Regions from separate parts of the Homo sapiens genome. Here region 1 is linked to region 2. Evidence: promoter capture Hi-C in 16 types of primary human blood cells and fetal thymus (Javierre and others, 2016). All regions are on one chromosome and are shown on one strand. Each heading gives the region's core, a stretch centred on a gene start or on the middle of the fragment in contact. The rest is flanking DNA. Distances are from core to core; before and after follow the strand shown. Region 1 holds the start of RAB40A (RAB40A, member RAS oncogene family). Region 2 has its middle 13 kb from the start of RAB9B.

Region 1 (3,810 bases), core at 954-3,453, 300 kb before region 2:
CACCCAAAAGCCCCCTCCCCTAACCACTATTTCTATACTGAGTATCCTTCTGTGTTAGACCAGAGGCCAACAGAGGGAAGAGACTCACCCCAAAAACCACAGTCAGTTGATGGGTCGAGTAACTAGGGTACAAATCTGATGACTCCTGTCTTCTGTCTAGCTGACTCATTATTATTCTTTGCTCTTCTGTACTATTTCTTCCTCCCATGGCTCAATAAGAACTCCTTCACCCACGTCACACTAGAAAGAAAATAAGAGAGCAGAGAGTACATGGAATCAAAGGAATGATAAGATAAAACCAACATTCATTTATTGCTACTATATTTCTAAATGCTCTCTGTTTCAAATCTTCTATTTCATAGGGCACAATTATTTTATCTTGGAACCAACAATCTTCGGAGAATGTATCCCAAAGATACAATTCAAAAAGATAAAAAGGCAGAAGCACAAGGTCATTCTTGGCAGAACAAATTGTAACAGCAGAAGACTGGAAATAAGACAGATGTCCACCAATAAAGGACTGACTGAATAATCTAAGGTGCATCTACATCCTAGATTTCAATGCCGGTATAACAAGCAAGGAAGATTCCCTCTCTCTGCTGCTATGTAGTGATTTCCAGGATATACCATTAAGTGAATAAAGCAAAGTGCAGAAAAATGTGTAGAGCTGCTGTTGTCCCATACCATACCCACTGGCCACTCATGGCTATTTAAGTTAACTAAATTTAAATGGAATTTTAAATTCACTTCCTCAGTCACACTCACCACATTTTAGGTGTTTAATAGTCACAGGTAGCTAGTGGCTACTATGTTGGACAGTTGAGACATAGAATATTTTCACCTTTGTAGAAATTCTATTGGACTCCACCAGTGTAGAATATGTCACCTTATATATATGGAATAGGAGAAAACTAATAGAAACATTCTATTTGCTTATATTTTTAAAATTGGAAAGTTTTAATGAAAATTGATTTAAAAAATCATTACCTATAAAGAGAAGGAAAAACAGCCCAGGACAGAAGCCAATAATGTCTTTTCCCTTAAAAATATAATATATATACACTGGCTCCATGCACTAGAAAGGTGAAGAAACATGATAGACCCAGTAGCAATGAGCAACTCTAGTGCCCATATTGAATCCACTTAAAACACATCACACTGAAAGGAACTAGGTTATCTTAGAGAAATGACTGAGTTTAGGTCTGTGTAGCCATTCTACTAGATGAATCTGGACCAAACTATCATGCCAGAGAGTGCGTCAAAAAGACTCAGAAGCCAAGCTTAAGGGGCTCTCGCTGGACAAAGATGAAGCAATTTGAACATTAAATAAAATAATGACTACTATGGATTAAAACACATTATAATATAAAAACTTCTACAGCTCATGATGACACTCTAAAAGAAAAATAAAATAAAACAAACAATATCAACTCATTGCTTGCCTTTGGAGAACCCTAGGGAAACAACTCATTGTTTTGAAAAGTGGAAATATTGCAAAAGAATTAGGCACTCATCCAACCCTTTCTATACATACTATCCCTCAGTGTAACCTAATGGTTTATGAAAGTTTATTTAATAGAATAATTCCAGCTAATAAAGCAGAGAAAATTATAGAATTAGAATATCATCCTTTTATGACCTTTAATGAATATAGAACTAAGCAACAATCCTTAGACGCTGCAGAAAAATCGAGGTGAAAAAGGGATGGGAAATTTTATAATGGATGGATCAGCTTAACAATACTTGAACATAGTAATTAATCTTAACATCACAAGAGGAGAGACAATTAGACACAATGAGCCCCCTGTGTAACACTATAGGAATAAACAATACCACATATGAAGTACTTCTGACCAAAACAAATCTAAATTGAATCAAGCCTCTGAATCTAACACCATTTTGTTAAATTTTTTTATTATACTTTTAAGTTCTGGGATACATGTGGAGAATGTACAGGTTTGTTACATAGGTATACACGTGCCATGGTGGTTTGCTGCACCCATCAACCCGTCATCTACATTAGTTATTTCTCCTAATGGTAATATAAAAAGAGAAAGAAATACTTGGAATTTGATTTGGAAAACCTTTCTCCTGTAGCCAGTCCACCTCCATGTGCTTGATACAGTTGACACTTCTTACCCTACAGGAGATTATTCAGCCTATCAGCCAATCTAGAAAATAAAATCATGAGGATCCATGTTTGGTGGTATAGGAACTATTAAGTTTATATTGGAACATTTTGCAAAACATGTTAAAATTAAGTTAAAATGAATGTGGCTCGAAATTAGGATTGTAAGATTTCGGATTTCAACTCAGTTTCCACAGAGAAGTTTGGTTGACCTAAATTTTAAATATGTTAGGAATAAGCCCCTGCTGCACATCATTATATTCAAAGTTCTCTGTAGCTTCATTTGTGAAAACAAATGGATGAATGGGTATATATTTGTAAAACATGTCTTTGGGATAAAAAGGCATTTTGAGTTCTTGGTTTTCAGGATGTTCCTTCTGGTATTCTTCAAATAAATGCTTCTATAGTATTATAAAGATAATTTCATTAACCTGCTAAAATGGGAATGTATTTGTCTATAGCTACAAGGTAAAAAGTGTTATGAATAATAATTTTAAGATGACAGATATTAAATAGTTCAAATATTATTGATAATAAGATTTTTTTAAAAAAGAAAATATATGTTCATCCAAAAGAATGAACATGAACATTCATAACACCATTATTCATGAGATGTCAAAAACTGGAAAATACACAAATCTCCATCACAGATAAATATAGTGTGAAATATCCAAATAATATAATACTTTACACCAATGAGAATAAGCAATCTACAATATAGACCACAATAAATATTAATTTCACATACATTATGTTGACTGAAAGAAGCAAGACACAAAAGAGCACATGCTGTATGATTCCAAGAATTTCTCTTCTAACCTCCCAATAGAGATTGGGGCAGGAGAGGAATATCAACAACTCATTTCCTTTTATTTCAAGGTACTTAGTGTCTTTTTATGTTATCTGTAGCTTAACCTCAGATAAGTGAAGCAACTTTCTTCTGAGCCCTTGAAAAGTGATTAATTACACATAAGATGAAAAGCTAATACTATATCTGATGGACAGGCAATGTGGTGTGAGAGATTCGGGCAAGAATCCTAAATGGATGCTCAGTCTGCACCAAATCACACCGCAGTCACTGAGTCACCATGGTAACCATTCTGGCCAAGGAAAGCTGAGAAAAAACAAACACCACTATCCCGAGCTTGTTCCTAATATGTACTAGGAACTAAATAGGATTGACATGATGCACAGTAATTAACCTCAAGTAGTCCTTACAATAAAAATTCCTGACAGCTTCAGTGACATACAAATGTATACATACTCACATACATATATGCTTGCTCACCCTCTCACCACTCCAAATTCCAAGAATTTATTGAGGTTGATTTACTGGTGGGTAAAGAAGTAAATCTCGCCAGGCATGGTGGCTCGTGGCTATAATCCCAGCTACTCAGATGGCTGAGGTAGGAGGATTGCTTGAGGTTAGGAGTGTGAGAGAAGTCTAAACAACATAGCAAAACTCTGTCTCTGAAAAATGTTTTTAAGTTTAGCTGAGCATGGGGGCACACACCTGTAGTCAGTTATTCAGGAGGCTGAGGTGAGAGGATTGCTTGAGCCTGGGAGTTCAAGGCTGCAGTGAGCTATGATTGCACCATTGCACTCCAGCCTGAGCCACACATTGCAACAAAATCATTTCTGACCACACATATAAAGTTGAAAGCTACTAAACTATGTTCTTT
Region 2 (3,755 bases), core at 184-2,683:
ATATACTCTCTCTATATATACTATATATATGCACACATATATATAAGTTTAGTCTATGGCGGAACACTAACCGGTCTTTATTGCCCCCTTGTGGTTGAAAGTGGAACTGTTTCTATCTCTGCATTTATATTTAACACAAGGCTTCAGAATAATCTGATTATTACAGCAGTAGACTCAATTCAAACCAGTCATTTGACATCATGCAATTAAAGCATCTGGATGAATGAATATTTTTTATTTCTAGCAATTCTTTTATCATGGTGACCAAAGCTTAGATTCATAACCTTTCTAAACAAAAGTAGTCTCGAGTATAATCAGAAACAAAGGACAAATCAAATAAGCACCTCTCTTTCCCCAACCCACCAGTTTTCTAATTTATCAGAACATAACCTTTTCTATAATATGGCAGTATATTTTTAAAATACCATAAACAAAATTAAAAGGCAAGATCTATGGGAGGGGATTGCAGAAAACTAGCAATGTGGATAAGATCAAAGGTTAATACCCACAATATAAAAAAAGATTTCCTTGGAATCAATAAGAAACAAAAATGAATGTTCCCCAACCCCCATAAGGGTCCATTCACTCAAGGAAAAATAAAAATGGCCAATGAATGTATAAACAATTACTCTCAAAAAATTAAATAAATGTAAATGACAGCATGAGATCATTTTTTCACCCATCAGACTGCACATATGGGGTTAAAAAGGAAGATAATAGTCCATACGTTTGGGTGTTGGAAAGATAGTCTTCCTCTTATTCTACTGGTGTTGATGTCATTTGGGATAAGTTTCTAGAGGCCAATTTGCCAGTATATATTAAAATTAATAAAAAATTCATAATCTTTGACCTAGAAATTTTACTAGTAGGAAATAAACAGAGGTGAGAGTTAAGATTGATATTAAGGAACTTCACTGATGCTTTATTTTATGAAAAGAAGGCAGCTGTAAAACAACCTAAATGTCTAGCAATAAGTGTTTTATTAAAAGTTTAGCAATATGGGTAATTGTGGTAAACCCTTCAATACAATATTATGCAAACAGCAAATATAATCTTAGAAGAATATATGTCTTAGAGAAAAGTTAAGTACTATAGATATATATTAAGTAAAAAAGATTACAGTGTGTGCAGTATCAAATCAATTTTAAAAATACATAAATATATTAAAATCTACACTAAAATGTTAAAATCTGCTTATCTCAGGTTAATAGGATTACATTACAGATGACTTTAATTTTTTAAATCTTGCTTTTCTATTTCTTTCATTACTTCATTTTTCTACGGTGGATGTGTATGGCTTTTGTAATCAGAAAAAAAGAACATTTTAAAGCATTTATCGGTCACTCTAAGTTTTCTAGCAGGGAACAAATGGAAAAAGAGAGAACTCAGAGGCTACTGGCACTTGTTCATCTATTAACAGACTCTATGTTGAGCAATATATTACAGGACACACCCTTGGATATGTCGTTTCTAAGGCAGCCAGGAACAACGTAAGAGAAAAGAGATGATATGAGCCTGTTTCTTGCTTCCTCATGAATGCACCACAGGAAAGTGTGATTTGTATTTTTACTCTAATCAATATAGCTAATGTTGAATTAAGAGCTATTTCTTTCATTAAGGCAGCATTTCCCAATTCTTTTTATCAATCAGTTAACTAGATGTGGCACAGCTTGGCAGGTCTGATTAAAATTCAGGAGTGTTATAGTGAGACCATTATACATTTACCCATAGTTCATACAGCACGAAAGGAACTGACAGATTACTTAAAAATACACATGCTTGCACACACAAAACCCACTGTTTAAAAAGACATTTATATATAACTGAATCATCATTCTCTGTGTTTCCTTGGAGAAGGCAAAGAGATTTATGAAGACACAAAGATCACTGCAGCAGTTTCTATATGACTACAGGTGACGACGCCACATCTTGAGCTGTGAAGATGCTTATTTTCACTGGGAAAATATTAAGTAACTTCTTGCCCCCTTAAAAAAAAACCCTTTCACACATTATTACCACTACCATCACTAGCAGAATAAGAGATCCTTGCTCACCAGTTTTGGCAAGCATATCAGTAAGAAGGCATTTAATAATTTTTCCTTTATTCCATAAACATGCCTAGCTTTTGTCATTATCCCTTCCTTCTCTTAAAGAGAAAGTAGTAAAGAATGAGAGCTCTTTTGGTGATGGAAACTTGAGGAAATTAAAATGACCAGTTTGGAAAAAGAAAACATTAGTGAATATCCCAAATCATGCACATTAACGTTTTATCAAAAGGTGTATGCTATGCTCTGAATCTTTTTGTCCCCCTCCAAAATTCATAGGTTGAAATCCTAACCCCCCAAGGTTATGGCATTATAAGGAGATGGGGCCTTTGGAAGGTGATTAGGTCACAAGGGTGAAGCCCTCATAAATGGGATTAGTGTCCTTATAAAAGAGGCCCAGGAGAAACCCCTTCCCCCTTCCACAGAGCTGGAAGGTGCCATCTGTGAACCAGAAATCAAGACCTCACCAGACCCTGAATGTGCGGATGCCTTGATTTTGGACTTCCTAGCCTCCAGAGCTGAGAAATGAAATTCTGTAGTTTATAGCCTACCAAGCTTATGGTATTTTGTTAGGGCAGCCCAAATGGGCTAAGACAGTATATTACAGTTTATCTGCCCTAAAATCAAGTGTAAGAAAAACACTGCACTGTAGTAAATTTTACATTTCCACAGCAAAGAGAGAAAAAAAGTGAAATGATTATCTAGATCACTGAGGAAAAAAAATTGCTGCAAGATCTACTTTGGGTAATTCAAATGAAAGTAGAGATGTCCATCCCACCTCCCAGCTTGAAATTACTCAAATTGATACCTCGATTTTCCAGTGTGTTTTAAAACTACAGTTACAAGATGGAAGACAAATTATGTATTCCACACCTTCCTGTTTCTGGAAGGACTATCGCCAAACCATTTCCAAAAAATGAGACCGTACTGTTTCTTAAGACATCATGAGGAGATTTCCCACTGGGTTATGAATGAGGCAGAAAAACATTAAAGACAGGAAGTTGGCATTCTGTTTTTAAAATATCAGTTATGGGCCCCGGTGCATTGGCTCACACCTGTAATCCCAGAACTTTGGGAGGCCAGGTGGGTGGATCACTTGAGGCCAGGAGTTCAAGACCAGCCTGGCCAACATGGTGAAGCCCTGTCTCTACAACAAATACAAAAATTAGCCAGGTGTGGTGGCGGGCGCCTGTAATCCCAGCTATTAGGGAGGCTGAGGCATGAGAATCGCTTGAGTCCGGGAGGCCGAGGTTGCAGTTAGCCAAGATCAGGCCACTGCACTCCAGCCTGGGCAACAGAGCAAGACCCTGTCTCAAACACACACACACACACACACACACACACACATACACACACACACACACACACACACACACACAAAGTTAGCTGGGCATGCTGGTGCATGCCTGTAATCCCAGCTACTCAGGAGGCTGAGGTGGAAGGACTGCTTAAGTTCAGGAGGTGGAGGTTGCAGTGAGCCAAGATCAGGCCACTACACTCTAGCCTGGGCAAAAGAGCGAGACCCTGTCTCAAAAAAAAAAATAATCAGTTACAAATGAGCAAATCCTTATTAAGTGGCTTATAAATCTATGACTTTCTATATTCTAAAAGTTGCATCATTATAGACTAGTCAAAATGATTTGGGGTGCTGCATTTGAAGCATGGTCTGATAATGTGTTAAATTATAATCCTCAGAGATGGAAATGGTAC

What was found. The method cuts DNA at HindIII sites, captures the fragments that hold promoters and counts their contacts. A CHiCAGO score of 5 or more calls a contact.
Region 1: a contact is called between the fragment with the promoter of RAB40A here and a fragment that was not itself captured in region 2, in 12 of 17 cell types (total B cells, total CD4 T cells, naive CD4 T cells and 9 more). The highest score is 14.6, in total B cells.

The regions. Positions count from the first base shown.
Region 1 is chrX:103,517,286-103,521,095 of GRCh38, forward strand. RAB40A (RAB40A, member RAS oncogene family) reads right to left here and starts at 2,204. Exons shown (of 3, transcript NM_080879.3): 1 at 2,085-2,204; 2 at 89-240. LL0XNC01-250H12.3 (a long non-coding RNA gene) reads left to right here. Exons shown (of 6, transcript NR_188440.1): 6 at 363-658. The HindIII fragment of the contact is 4,467 bases long and covers 1,279-3,810 here.
Region 2 is chrX:103,817,591-103,821,345 of GRCh38, forward strand. It overlaps a transcript of RAB9B not described here. Among named protein-coding and RNA genes, the nearest start is that of RAB9B, 13 kb to the right of the region's middle. The HindIII fragment of the contact is 2,330 bases long and covers 269-2,598 here.